Linked DNA regions of Homo sapiens: region 2 is linked to region 1. Evidence: promoter capture Hi-C in 16 types of primary human blood cells and fetal thymus (Javierre and others, 2016). All regions are on one chromosome and are shown on one strand. The core of a region is centred on a gene start or on the middle of the fragment in contact, and the rest is flanking DNA. Distances in the headings are between cores, read along the strand shown. Region 1 holds the start of PIAS2 (protein inhibitor of activated STAT 2). Region 2 holds the start of PIK3C3 (phosphatidylinositol 3-kinase catalytic subunit type 3).

Region 1 (7,114 bases), core at 3,402-5,901:
CTGCACTCTAGCCTGGGCGACAGAGTGAGACCCTGTCTCAAAAAAAAAAAAAAAAAGTGAGGAAAAATTTTTTTTTAATTCCTTGTTCAGTTTCCTTGATACTAGTTTTGGTAAAGTCTAAGACTAAGACAGTATTGGCAAAGTGTGTAGGAGTTAGGAAATGTGATATAAATAGATATATGCTTAGCAAAAGAAGTAAAGTGGCTTGGAAAACATCTGGGAGGCCTGAGCACTGTTATAGGGAGAGAGGAAGTAATCAGTGGGAAGGAAAAGAGAGATATTAAAATCAGTAAAGTCTAATGGGTTCAGAGACAGATGTGAAAGGATTAAGAAGACAGGTGCTTGGAACTAAACTCAAGGTTACATGGTTGGTCCAACCAGGTTGGAATGCTCTTTGCTAAAATTACTAGGATATATCATATGGTTCTTAATTATGTTTCTTAATGAAGTGCTTTTTTTTTTTTGTTATGTGTTTATCAGCTGTTTAGATTCAAAATCAGCTTAGCTGTTTAGATACAAAAAATTTACCATCTTTCACTTTATAAATTTACAGAGTACACTCATACACCTGATCTATCAGATCAGGTATCTCATCCTGAGATAGGTGTAGTCATTTTTCTTTTCCAGATTAGAAAAATTAAGTTGAGACTTTGCTAAAGTTACACAGCTAGTAAATGGAAAAGCTACTCCTGAGATTTTTGACTTCGTGTATTAAAATCTTATGACACTTTATGCCAGGCGCAGTAGCTCATGCCTGTAATCCCAGCACTTTGGGAGGCCAAGGCAGGTGGATCACGAGGTCAGGAGTTCAAGACTAGCCTGACCAAGACGGTGAAACCCCATCTCTACTAAAAGTACAAAAATTAGCTGGGCATGGTGGCGGGTGCCTGTAATCCCAGCTACTTGGGAGGCTGAGGCAGAGAATTGCTTAAATTCGGGGGGGCAGAGGTTGCAGTGAGCCGAGATCGTGCCACTGCACTCCAGACTGGGCAACAGAGCGAGACTCCGTCCCAAAAAGCAAAAACAGAAACAAAAAACAAACAAACAAAAAAACTTAGGACACTTTAATCACAGTACTTATAATGAATCTTCTAATTTGGAGCCATTTTAAGACGGTAGCCTAGTCAGGTAATTGCCTGGAGATTCAATCCATAAAGAGCACTAAAACATTTTACCATTGGAAATGTAATAAAGAAAAAGGATATATTTAATAGAATTCCTCTGGTAGAAGAGTTCAGCATGTGGCTGGCACTGGTACTTTGATATGTGGCCTTTTGTGAGTGATAAGATTACTGCACCTCCCTCCTTCTCCACTCCCCTTTAAGGGTATACCACATTACTATGTTATAAGGAAGTTGGATTCAAGTAAGTGCAGGGATTTCTTTTTAATGAGGATATATAAATCTAGACCAGAGCAGAAATGATCACAACAGTGAAGAGAAACATGCCCTTTCTACCCTTTACCACTCAGCCATTCCTTTGAACATATATTGAATGATTATTGGGGAGTATAGATTAGAAAAAATGCCAAATTAATAATCTGGTCTGGTGAGACAAAGTAGCACCCTATTTCAGAATTCTTTCTATTGCAACTAATAGAAATCTCAACTCAAACAATCTAAAACCTTACAAGAAAGGCATTGGCTCAAGAAAACTGGCCAGTACAGAGGCAGAGTGAGTATCAAAGTCAATGCTGAGATTTTGTGTGTGTGTGATTTTTCTGCTCACAAGAAGGGTTGGTTCTCAGGTTGGCTCTTCACTGTAGCAAAATGGCGAGTGTTCCACATGCCAGAAAGTCTTATCTCTAATCACTGAATAAATGTCCTAGGCTTCCCTCTGATTAGCCTACCTTAGGGCACGGGTCCACACTTGATCTACTTGGCAAAGCCTATAAATGCTCAGTACTAATCAGATTTATATGCCCAGTTGTGATCTAATACTGTGGCCAGAATGACATAACAGTCCTTAATGACTCAGGCCAGTCTAGGGCAGCACCTAGAACTCTTTGCAGTCAAACCTACCCAACCCATCCAGGAGCTGCTACACATTGAGGAAGGGGCAGAATGAATGCTGGGAAGCAACTACAAAGAACACTGCACGTAAGTTTCAGTGGGGCTTTGCTTTTCTTTTCTTACTGTTTTGTGTTTATGTTGGTCCTCTTTATGGGTGTAAGCTCCTCTGTGGCAGGGCTGTATTGTACTCTATTCGTCTATTCCCCGAAAACTCCTCCCACAGTGGCATTCACTTAAAGCCTACTAAACAATGTTAAATTCTACTGAGGTGTAAATCAAGGTCTACGGAGAATAAATCAAGAGTAAGAATAAGCCAAGCGAAGATCACAAAGTTAATGGTGGAGAGACAGATTTAGAACCTGGACATTGTTCATTCATTCCTTTATTCATTAAACAAATACAAGGCCAACTATTTGTTAGGCATTTATCAGCCATTATAGTCTAGTGGGTTTACAATTTTTTAACATAAAATTTTAAAATAATAATTTTTATTTTTTGAGACAAAGTCTCACTCTGTTGCCCAGGCTGGAGTGCAATGGTGCGATCGCAGCTCACTGCAACCTCCACCTCCTGGGTTCAAGCAATTTTCCTGTCTCAGCCTCACGAGTAGCTGGGATTACAGGCATGTGCCACCACACCCGGCTAATTTTTTTTTTTTTGAGATGGAGTTTCGCTTTTGTTGCCCAGGCTGGAGTGCAATGGCGCTATCTCCGCTCCCTGGAACCTCCGCCTCCAGGGTTCAAGCGATTCTCCTGCCTTAGTCTCCGGAGTAGCTGGGATTACAGGAATGCGCCACCACGCCTGGCTAATTTTGCATTTTTGGTGGAGACGGGGTTTCTCCATGTTGGTCAGGCTGGCCTCCAACTCCCAACCTCAGGTGATCCGCCCGCCTCTGCCTCCCAAAGTGCTGGAATTTAGAGCGTGGGCCACAGCTCCTGGCCTAATTTTTGTATTTTTAGTAGAGACAGGGTTTCACCATGTTGGCCTGGCTGGTCTGCAACTCCCGACCTCAAGTGATCCACCTGCCTCGGCTTCCTAAAGTGCTGGGATTACAGGCATGAGCCACTGCACCTGGCCAAAACAATATGTGTGTGTGTTGTGTATATATACACAACACACACACACACACACACACACATATATATATATACACGCACACACATATATATCAAATAAACAATTACACAAATACCTACATAATTACCATGGAGACATCTCAGGAAGAAAAAGTTCAGGGTCCTAGGAGAGGTCATAACAGGGGAATTTGAATTAAAATGTGGGATGTGGGTGAGGGATGGTCTTCCTGAGGAAGTGACACTTAAAGTGAAACCTGAAGGATGAACAGGAGTTAGGAACAAAGAAGAGAGTGGGAAATTATTCTTGGTTCAAGGATCAACATTTAGAAGCCTTAAAACTTGAGGGGAGGCCGGGTGCAGTGGCTCACGCCTGTAATCTCAGTACTTTGGGAGGCCGAGGCGGGCGGATCACCTGAGGTCCGGAGTTGGAGACCAGCCTGACCAACTTGGAGAAACCTCGTTTCTACCAAAAATACAATCGCAGCTACTCGGGAGGCGGAGGTAGGAGAATCGCTTGAACCCGGGAGGCAGACATTGCGGTGAGCCGAGATCGTGCCATTGCACTCCAGCCTGGGCAACAAGAGCAAAACTCCGTCTCAAAAAAACAAAACTTGCGGGGTGCGGGGGCAGGGGAGTGGAAGGAAGACCTGGAAGTGCAGTGCGGATGAAACGAGGGGTAGTGGGAAGAGGCGGTAGGTAGGAGGCTGATTAAACAGGGCCTTAAAAGTTACATTGTTTTAAAGACCTCTCGTGTGTGGGTTCCACCCAATTCTTCAAGGAAATTGAACCCTGGACACCGTCCAGCGATTTTTCTGGCCATCTTGACTCAGCATCTTCCTTCATCCTATATCAGCACATTACGGGGGGGCCATCAAGCTTCCTTCTATCTACTTACTCTGCCTTGGCGTTTGACTCCTTCCTAGCTATCAGATTTCCCCGACTTTTTAGCATGGCCCTTCTGAGCGCTCTTATTTCACTTCTCCCCGCCCCCAACCCCACCGCCTAACTCTCCCAACTCTGCAGTCCGTGACCTTCAGGTGCCCTTCAAGGTCAGAAAAACTCGGCAAGGTTGGTACTTGCAGGACATTAGCAATTCAAAGAGGTGTCACACAACCTCACCATTAGATGGGAACAATAGCTTACCCAACACCCATATTTAGATTATTCCGCCACAACTACTCTGGGGGATGGTTTTATTTGCGGCGGCTTTCTCCGTCCATAGGCACCGCGTGAAGGGCACCGTAAGAATCTTCCCGAATGCTCCTGTCACGCGTCCCGGCCGCCTCTTCTTCCTCCCCGCCACTTCCCGAGGCCAGGCCCGCGGATAACGCCTCAGTTGCGACCCAGCTCTAGGCAGTCCGCAGGGGCCTCCGCCGGGGAGGGAAGGCACGACCTGGGGCCGAGCGGGGCCAAGCCGCGGGGCAGCACGCCGGGGCAGGCGCGGGCGGGCGCTGTCGCCGCGCGGACTGAAGGCGCGGGCGGAAGGCGGTCGCGCGGGTGGGCAGGGGGCACCGCTAGGGGCGGGGCTTCGGCGCGTCGGAGGCGGAGCTCCCGCGCCGTTCACGTGACGGGCCCGGCTGTAGCGGCGGCGGCCGCGGCGTCTTAAGCGGCGCCCAGTGCAGGATGGTGCTGGAGGCGGCGGCGGCCGTGGTGGCGGCAGCGTCGTTGGCGGCAGCGGGAGTGGGTGCGGCGGCAGCGGCGGCGGCGCCCGCGGGTGGTATAAAATGGCGGATTTCGAAGAGTTGAGGGTAAGCGGGAGTGGAGAGCGGAGGCCGCGGGGGAGGGGATGGGAGAGGAGGTGGGGAAACCGCAACGTCGCCGGCCGCCGCCTGCTCGTGCCTCTGGGGCCGGTTGGCGGAGCCCTGAGCCCCGGCCCGCGGACGAACGGGCGCCGAGGGCGCGGGGGAGGGGAGCGGGCCGGCGGAGGGCACGCGGGCGGCGCGGGGGCGGCGGGCCTGGGCCGCGGCGAGCCGGCTCCTGAGTGCTGCCAGTGGTCCGCACACCTGGCGCGGGGGGTCGGGGCGCCCTCCAGGAGGGGCACATGGGGACCCGACATCCCGGTTCGCAGTGAGGGCCGATGTGGGAAGCAACGTTTGATCTTGCACCTTCACCGGGGTGTACGTGTCTGTGGCTATTCACAAGTCTGCATGCTACTCACTTGGTGGAGGACTGTTTTCTGAAAGCTGAAGTTGCGTTTAGGAATCTCTCCTCTTCTTATGGCTGATGCTACCGTTTAGTCAGGTCTGTCACGAGAAAAGGCCCCTTCTCCCACCCTTGCCTCCTAACATCTTCGAGGAACCTAATGTTTGGGGATCCCTGCCTTCAATAATCGGCCTTAAACCTCGATATTTTCTTAGTGTTTTAGTAAGAAATCTGCAAAGTCTATGTTGTGAGGTTTGTGCACCCCTTTTACTCTTGAGGAAAAATATTTTTTTCTTCTCAGTCTTAAAACAAGATCATAACTTTATTGTTGATACCCTTGTATAGCAGAGGTCTGGAATAGGGCTGTGATGGGGGTAGAACAGAAGAGACTTTTTCCCCCCAGACTGATAACCTTTAAAGTCCTAACTAAGTGTGACGAATGAGATGGATTTGTGTGTATCGCTGAATTACTGGCGACATAAATGAGATGTTTACGGACAGAAACCCTGATTTTTTTTTTTTTTAAATGTATCAAGGTAGAGATGAGTGTAAACTTGAAATTACATTTACTGCAACTCGTTTGTGTAACACTTATGATATTAGGATTTCTTTTTCAAATAAGGAAGAGGAATCCGGTAAAAGGTTCAGTTTTGTATATTTATTGTTTTCCGCAAGAGATGGGATGGGGGAAGGATGTTGGCTGGTTACCTGCTTAGTGGACGTGAGCAAAAGAACGTATCCTCTGCTCTAAACGGAGATTGTTGGAGTTTGCACAGTGCCTGCCATATTCCCTCCTGCTGTTTCAAAAATAATTATTAAGTTCCCAGTAAACACATATTAATACATGTTATGCCCCATACTAGTTTATGCAGAGAACCATAAGTGTAGGTAAAGGGTGTTCATACTTGATAAGTTTAAGGGTTTTAGTGGCTCAGAGCCCCAGCTGTAGAGCTTTTAACACCTGTGGAGCTTTTCAAACAACGAACCCTGAACCTCACCTCTGTAAATTCATGCGTTAGATTTAGGATGGGTTGAGAAGACTGAACTCTGAAGTTATATTTATTTTTACCTGCCATTTTTAATTTTTGTGTAGTAACAGATGTATACAAGTTTTCTAAGTTCTTTTTTTTTTTTTTGTTAATGAAAACTTTCCAGGATTTTTATTAGACTCTTGTGAATGTTGTTGGCCAAAGCTTAATGTAAAGCGAAGAATTTACTCGCTCTTATAGAGCAGAGTAAAAGCAGTCAGTGCTCAGATTGGAGTGCAACCAGCAACTGGAAAGTGATAGAAACCAAAGAAGCTTTTTTTTCTCTTCCTTTCTGCCTTCCTCTCTGTTTTGGTTTGTGGATCAGCTTCATCCTCTTTTCCTGTAAATCAGCTGTCTTTACTTCTTGCATTTTTAGAAGATGGCCCCTCTCCCACAATTCATATGACGTGCCCAACAGAGACTAACTGGGGAGAATTTTCAGAGGAGTGAGGGGTGCAGGCTGGGCACATGCAGTAAGCATCATCTGCTTTTCTTTGCCTTAACTGCTCTGTGCAGACCCATGTTACCCTACACTTGAAGATGAACTGTACCCCGCCCTTACATCCCATTACAGACAGTAATGATGATGATGGTATATACCCATTTTAATATAGTGGTTATTCCATGCCTGGTTCTGGTCTAAGCATTTTTTCTATACTTATTTAATTCTCACAATTTTTTCAAGAAATTGAAGCACAGAGAGGTTAACCTGACCTAAATCACACAGCTTGAGATTTGAAAAGCTAAGATTTTTAATCTTAGACATGTAGCTTTTAGAGTCTGGGCTTTTCAGAGCCCGGGCTACACTACTTTGTTCTGGTACCTTGGGGTCTAGGTGGAGCTTCTAGCCATCATC
Region 2 (7,114 bases), core at 2,939-5,438, 5.0 Mb after region 1:
TAAAAACTACAAACGTTAAAAATTCAACTTTTAGAGATCAAACATGGAAGTTTTTATATTCTTGCAAACATATAATATAAAAACTAATGCAGAGAAGAGTTGGCAAATGGGAGGAGGAGGAGAAAACCTTTAATCTTGTAATTGAGAATTTGCTTTTGTTGTAATTTCCTTTTTTGTCAAGTCATGCAACAGAAGCCACTATACATTTTTCCTTACCAAAATGTTTTTGGCCTTCTAGACCTAAATTTGTTTTAACTCTTCTGAGAGTAATAGGTGACCTCAAAAATCTAATTAAAGCTTTGAGCTCTGTCCCTGAAAAAGTACACAAAACACAAAATTCTGCATACACCTTCAGGGGTTTGAAGACTTCCTGATTCCAGTTTAAGAATCTCTGATACAATTAAGGAATTCTGCTCCATTGTTTTAGGTGTGATGATGATGATACTGTAGTTATGCTTTAAAAACAGATATACAGAAATACTTACAGTTAAGGTGTTATAACGTTTGAGGTTTGTTACAAAATGGTGAGAATACAAGATTGGCCATGAGTTAACAGTAGGTATGTAACAGAAACTTAGGCGTTCACTGTATTATTCTATTTTTGTAGGTTTAAAATTTTCCAGAATAAAAAGTATTAAGTATATATATATATTTTTTATGTGTGTGTGTATATCTACATACACATACACACATATCTATATACATATATATCTATATCTATATACACACATATATATATACAGATAGATAGGCTAGATAGACAGACAGACAGACAGATATCTCTCCACAAAGACTACTGAAGAAATTACACCATTAAAATACTTGGTTTCGATATGGCCAGATCACCAGAGTTCAGGCTTCTGCTGTTTGAAAACCCTTTCCAGCTACACTGGGTGACACCTGGGACACACAGGGTTGAACCCTCTATGGCACAGTCTGGCTGTCCATGTGGTCACATCCTGTCTTCCATGAACACTCCTTCCTTAAAAGCATACAGCCTGTGTATCCTACACTGAGCCTACCAGAGTGCTGAATAACACTCGCTGATCAAACATCAGAACTGCACTACATAGTCTATCAAATAAGAAGTGTCAAGAAGTCAGATTAAGGATCCACAATACTCTTCTGAAAAAAACAGGAACTTCATGTTCATTATATTTACCCTGCATCTTGACAAGGTCTTGCTAATGTGCCATGCTGAATAAACTATGAATCTAAATAAATTAGTTTCATATGTAAAATAATAATAAAAATTTTATCTGAACCGATGGCAATAGATCTATCTCTAAAAATCTGAGCTCCAAACATCAGGTTGGACAATATTTCAGACTATCCAGAAGTATTTATGCATTCAAGAGCACAGGATGGTAAAGAATTTTAAAATGCCACAGACGTGTTTTTGTTTTTGGTCATGTAAATCAGTCAAGTGCTTATCAAAATGTCAATATGCTAACTACAAACATAAATCCATTTCTATTTCAATTGCAGTTATAATACTGACATGCATAATACTTTATCTGAGTATGTTTCTACTTCAAATGATTTGATCAATGCCTATAGGTATTAAGAAATTCCTCTATAATCCTACTAAATTATACTTGCAGCATCCATAAAGAAAGGTAAGAACAGTCTGTAACATACCATATGCCACAAAAAAACTTACTTCCATCTTGTACTAAATGCTTTGTAGGATGTTCTCACTGGCAAGGCCAAAGGCTTCCCTTCTGCAAAAACTTGACAAGTAACATAAAGATCAGAGCATGTCTCTTGATATAGTCCTGAGAACTTCAACATTGGGTCTTCCAGGACAGCTTTATAACTCTTTTGTTCTCTCTTCCCTTCCAAGCTTCCTCTGAAAGCACAAGACCAACAATGTTTCAGACATGAATTTTTTAAGCATGTACATATATACATAAGTACTAAGCATGTACATATATGCTTTAAGCATGTACATATATGCATAAGTACTAAAAAGTTTACCTTTGTGTTAAGGTATGCTACCTAAACAACATTTTCCTGTATATGAAATTAATGTCATTTTTATATATGATAAGGGTTTCTTAAAATCCTAACATACCTAATATCAGTCCCATCTTCATCAACACATTTCTCTATTTTATACTTCTGAATTTTAAACGCTGCCATTGACCCTTGATCTACCCTCTGGAAGTCACCAGCTTTCTAGGCCTTGGTTTCATTTTCTTCATTTCAAGTTGACCACATATTCATCTATTCTTTCAGGAAACATTTACCATAGTGGACAAAGAAGCCCAGAAGAAAGAAAAGATAAGCAATACAGTATTACAATAAAATATTAAGTCATTGCTTCTGGGGAAAAAAATTTACTTTTAACTGCATGTTTTTATTCTACTCTTTCCATTTTTTTCTTTTACTATGCATATGCATTGTCTGATCATTTCTTTAAAACAGTGGTATAAGTCATAAATAGATATGCACAGGATACTATCACAGAGGGAGGAACATTTTTTAGACATCAAGATTACATCAGATACTGTGCCAGGCATTTTATATTTTCTTTCTTACATAATTTTCACCATATTCTCATTTTATAAATGAGGAAACAGAGACTTATAAACTAAACTCCTTATCCACAGTCACAACGTAAGTAACAGAGCTGAGAATAAACACTAGGGCAGGGAGGCCAAAGCCAATATTCTTCCCATTACAGTAAGATAAATCAGAGTCTCAAGAGTACTTAGGCTGGCATGGGGAAGGGACTTAGTACCCCAGATAGATGTCTGAAATGATCCTGAACAATGCATGAGAGTTGAAGCAAAAGAAGCAGAACGTCATCCCAAAGGGAAAGGAGACAGAGTGAGACCCTGTCTCCAAAAAAAAAAAAAAAAAAAAAAGGGACCGGTTTTTTTGGCTTTTTCTTTATTTTTAATGTTCAAACATTTCAAAAAATGCATTCATATATCCAAGAAATACTGAGCATCAAGCTGAAGGAAAGCCCTTTATCAATATTGATCCTGTATAAACTACTAGTGGTGTATGCTATGGAAAATACCTTAAATGAGTGTATAAAGTATCATACAAAGGTACAAGGTGGTTGTTGACATATTACTTTTACCACCACCACCACAAACTAAAAAGTAAAGTATTTGTCAGCGAATAAGGGACTTCTGAAAATAAAATGAAATGATCATTCAAAGGTACATCAGACAACTGAGAAAATTTATCTATCACTTACTGCAGGCCTTTGACCGACACATATTTGTTGAATATTAATTGAACATACACAAGAAATGTTTATTAATTATGGATGATGCTATGGTCAATAATTTGTGATAGCTTTGACAACACTCCTACATGACCACCTTAAAAGGGACATAATTTCCAACTCTGTCTTGTGCATCCCTCGTCATTATACCAGTTCTATTATCCTCATCTCAAGATATCACGCCCTTGACCTTTACTTCAGCCGTGGTGCCCCAACGTTTTCCTGCAAAGACTCTTTTCTCCTATCTTCTTGGTACCTTTGAAACTGGAACCCTCATCTTCGACTTACTCCCAACTTCCCTGACTAAACACTGCCATACTACCCAAAGATTCACTCTAGGCCTCTATCACCTCCCGTGCTAATACACCATGTGCTCATCTTATTCTCAACTATCGCATCTGCCTGTGTCTACCTCTCCATAATTTCTGAAGCCTTCATTCCACCCTACAAGCCCCGTTCCAAAATAAAGATCGTCCTCTTACTTACGACGAGACTTGATTTCTTAATTTACAATGAAATAGTAATAAACTCTCAAAAGGCTGAACAGCAAAAACTTTAAAGACTGTAAAATACAGCGGAACTTAAGGGCTATTCCTACTGCTGTGCTTCTCACGGAGACCACGTATTAAATCCTTTTCCAAAAGAGCCCCTCTCCACGATCCACTCTCTCGCGCCTCCCTGGCTACAGCCCTCACAGCCGCCCCCAATCTGGGCCTTGAGACGAGTCACGTACTTTCTGCCTCTCACTCCCAACAGGCCCCTGCCCCCACGTCCCTACGCCCCAGCAATCCCACTCCCTGTCCCGAGTGTTCTCTTACATCTTAAGCTGGACGTTGATATCCAGGTCACAACTATAGATGTAGTGAAACTTCTCTGCTTCCCCCATCGCACCGTCTGCAAAGGTACCACCTACAGCGGGAACTTAGGTACAGGAAAAACAACATAAATGAACCAGCTGAGCCCCACAACACGGAACTTCCGGTTCCGCCCCCGCCAGCAAGCCGCCAATCCACGCCCGGAGCGAGTTCCGACGCGGCGGAACTCCCCGCCGAAACAACCCTTCCGCGCATGTGCACAAGGCGCCCACCATCTTGCTTAAGGGCAAATGTATACGGGAAACGGCTAATCTGGTTACATTCCAGTTTTCCTGTCTTGACAGCACTTTTTTTTTTTTTTAAAGAAAAAGAGACGCTATCATTTGAGCTTGAGCTGTACCTAAAACAATACGAAAGAAAATTCAATTCAAAAAGAATTATAACAGCTTTCACTGGCTGCCGGCTAAACAGGTTACAAGCACAAAAATTGGAATTTTGCCAGGTTTAAATTCCAGTGGCCTTCCCAAAAAGTGTAGCACTAATTTGCTATCTCAAGCAAGGATTTTCTCTTTCTGCTCTAAAGAGTAGGGAAAGGACTAAATAGAGAATAAATAAATCTGGGTTTCATGTTTGGTGTTGTCAGTATTCATGCTACTTTGGACATAATACTTGCGTGCATGTTTAAACTGGGAATATTCAAATTCAATGTAGTTTCAAGCCCTAACCCAAGTTAGAATCTAGAGGCCTCCTGTAATAACTACAGAACACAGATCTCTAAACCCTCTGAGCTCCTATAATGTTTGTTTTTATAATTATTATAATCTAAAATTGTAATACTCCCTTCCAATTAGATTGAAAACTCTTGGAAGGTAAGACCAGTGTGCCATTTACTTCCGTGTCTTGCCCCGCTAGCTGTCTAATGCATTGCTGAGTTTAATACTTCCTACTTACTGGTTATTAATGATGATATTGAATGAAAGTCTCCATTTTCTATGCCTTTATTTCTTTTTTTTTTTTTTTTTTGAGATGGAGTTTTGCTATTGTCGCCCAGGCTGGCACCATCTCGGCTCACTGCAACCTCCATCTCCTGGGTTCAAGCGATTCTCCTGCATCAGCCTCCCAAGTAGCTGGGATTACAGGCACCCGCCACCCAGTCAGGCTAATTTTTGTATTTTTAATAGAGATGGGGTTTCACCATGTTGGCCAGTCGGGTCTCAAACTCCTAACCTCCAGTGATCTGCCTGCCCTGGCCTCCCAAACTGCTATGTCATTTCTTTTTTTTTTTTTTTTTTTTTTTTTGAGACAGAGTCGCTCTGTTGCCCAGGCTGGAGTGCCCGTCTCTCTGTTGCCCAGGCTGGAGTGCAGTGGCGCGATCTCGGCTCACTGCAAGCTTCACCTCCCAGGTTCATGCCATTCTCCTGCCTCAGCCCCCCAAGTAGCTGGGACTTCAGGTGCCCGCCGTCACGCGCGGCTAATTTTTTGTATTTTTTAGTAGAGTCAGGGTTTCACCGTGTTAGCCAGGATGGTCTCGATTTCCTGACCTCGTGATCCGCCCTCCTCGGCCTCCCAAAGTGCTGGGATTACAGGCGTGAGCCACCTCGCCCAGCCTATGTCTTTATTTCTAAGTGCTGCATTTTAAGACGGACATCACTAAAGTATGTGCAAAATGGCGTAATTAGAATGTTGAGGGATTAGAAAAAAAATATTTCCAAGAAAGGGTGAAAGGTGTGGAGCTGTTTAACCTGGAAAAGGAAAAAAAATGGCTAATGCAGAATGTTTTACACAAAATAAGTTCTCAAAAATATTTATGGAGGCAAGAAAAGGATTTGGGTAGAATAAAGAAAAACATGATAGTTATCCTCCTATAACTTAAAGTTTAAACAAAAAGAGCACCTTTGATTTGTTCCTAAGAATAACTGCCACCAATGGTTGGAACTTACAGGAAATGTAATTTCAACAAACAATACAAATTGAACTTTCTAATTATCACAGCCATTCAACAGTAACACTGTTGTCACAAGTACTCTGTTTAAGGCATAACTCCAGCAATGAGTGTGAGGTTTGATGTGAAACCTCAATCTTGAATAAAATATTGACAATGTGTAAAGGAGTAAATTATCTGATCCCAGTGGTGAATAAATTACTTTCATTATGTAATGGTATTTAATGTATAAACCTAAGATAATATTATATACATATACAACCAAACAAATTTACAAATTAAATATAAAAACTTCAAATTAACAATCTTAATATAATAGTGGGATTTTTTACGGAAACTGTTGTTTGCAAAATGATTATGGAATATAGTGTTGGCTACTCTTACAGGACTGATTCTTTGAAATTCAGCACGTCTATACTGCTATATTCCACAGGGCAATTCATTTTTCTAGACTCTTTTTCTCTATTCAAATAACTATGAACTCTTCATGAGTGTAACCACCATGATGTATTCTGGCTTTATCTTGCCTACAACACATCTTTTTGTTTTAAGCCTGACTTTGTCCTTTTCTCATTAGCTCATAACAATTAAAGTAATACTGATTGTTTCCAAAACAGTTGCAAACACAACACAGATAAAAGCATGAAAATCAAATGTCAGTACTTAGTTATAAGATATTCATTCACAGAACCCAAAATAGATTTAACTTTTTAAAGATTATCAAGAGAAAAAAATAACATTAAAAATGTATTATAGAGGGATCTCAGAAAACTTGACTGTAGTTGTATTAAATATGTTAATACATCAAGGAAAACTAATGTGCCAATAAGGAGCAAGATTTTGGTAAGTCATGGAAGCATGGAAAGAATTATTATAGAAACCAAAACTCTCAGTGCCTTTTGTACTGTAAGTCAGGGAAGTGTTGGTTGGTAGACTTGAGTATCAGAATTCAATTAACAAGGCCATCTCTATAAGAGAAAAGGAAGCCTTAAGCATCTTATTTTGAAAGGAGAGGAATGATTTTTTCCTTCCCATGTGATTTTCATGAATCATGAATATAACATACGCTCATAATTATGGGATACAATTTGCATTGCAAGAGTCCACGGTGGC

The links. The method cuts DNA at HindIII sites, captures the fragments that hold promoters and counts their contacts. A CHiCAGO score of 5 or more calls a contact.
Region 2: the fragment with the promoter of PIK3C3 here is called in contact with the fragment with the promoter of PIAS2 in region 1 in 3 of 17 cell types (non-activated CD4 T cells, fetal thymus and naive CD8 T cells); the score reaches 6.2 in non-activated CD4 T cells.

The regions. Positions count from the first base shown.
Region 1 is chr18:46,915,044-46,922,157 of GRCh38, reverse strand. It overlaps PIAS2 (protein inhibitor of activated STAT 2), which reads left to right and starts at 4,651. Exons shown (of 14, transcript NM_004671.5): 1 at 4,651-4,836. The coding sequence starts at 4,813. It overlaps KATNAL2 (katanin catalytic subunit A1 like 2), which reads right to left and starts at 4,556. Exons shown (of 18, transcript NM_001387690.1): 1 at 4,232-4,556. RefSeq lists enhancers at 2,242-2,994, 4,502-5,255 and silencers at 4,392-5,131, 5,202-5,281. The HindIII fragment of the contact is 2,459 bases long and covers 3,967-6,425 here.
Region 2 is chr18:41,952,308-41,959,421 of GRCh38, reverse strand. PIK3C3 (phosphatidylinositol 3-kinase catalytic subunit type 3) reads right to left here and starts at 4,188. Exons shown (of 25, transcript NM_002647.4): 1 at 4,063-4,188; 2 at 1,664-1,852. The coding sequence starts at 4,130. RefSeq lists an enhancer at 4,231-4,410. The HindIII fragment of the contact is 3,603 bases long and covers 1,849-5,451 here.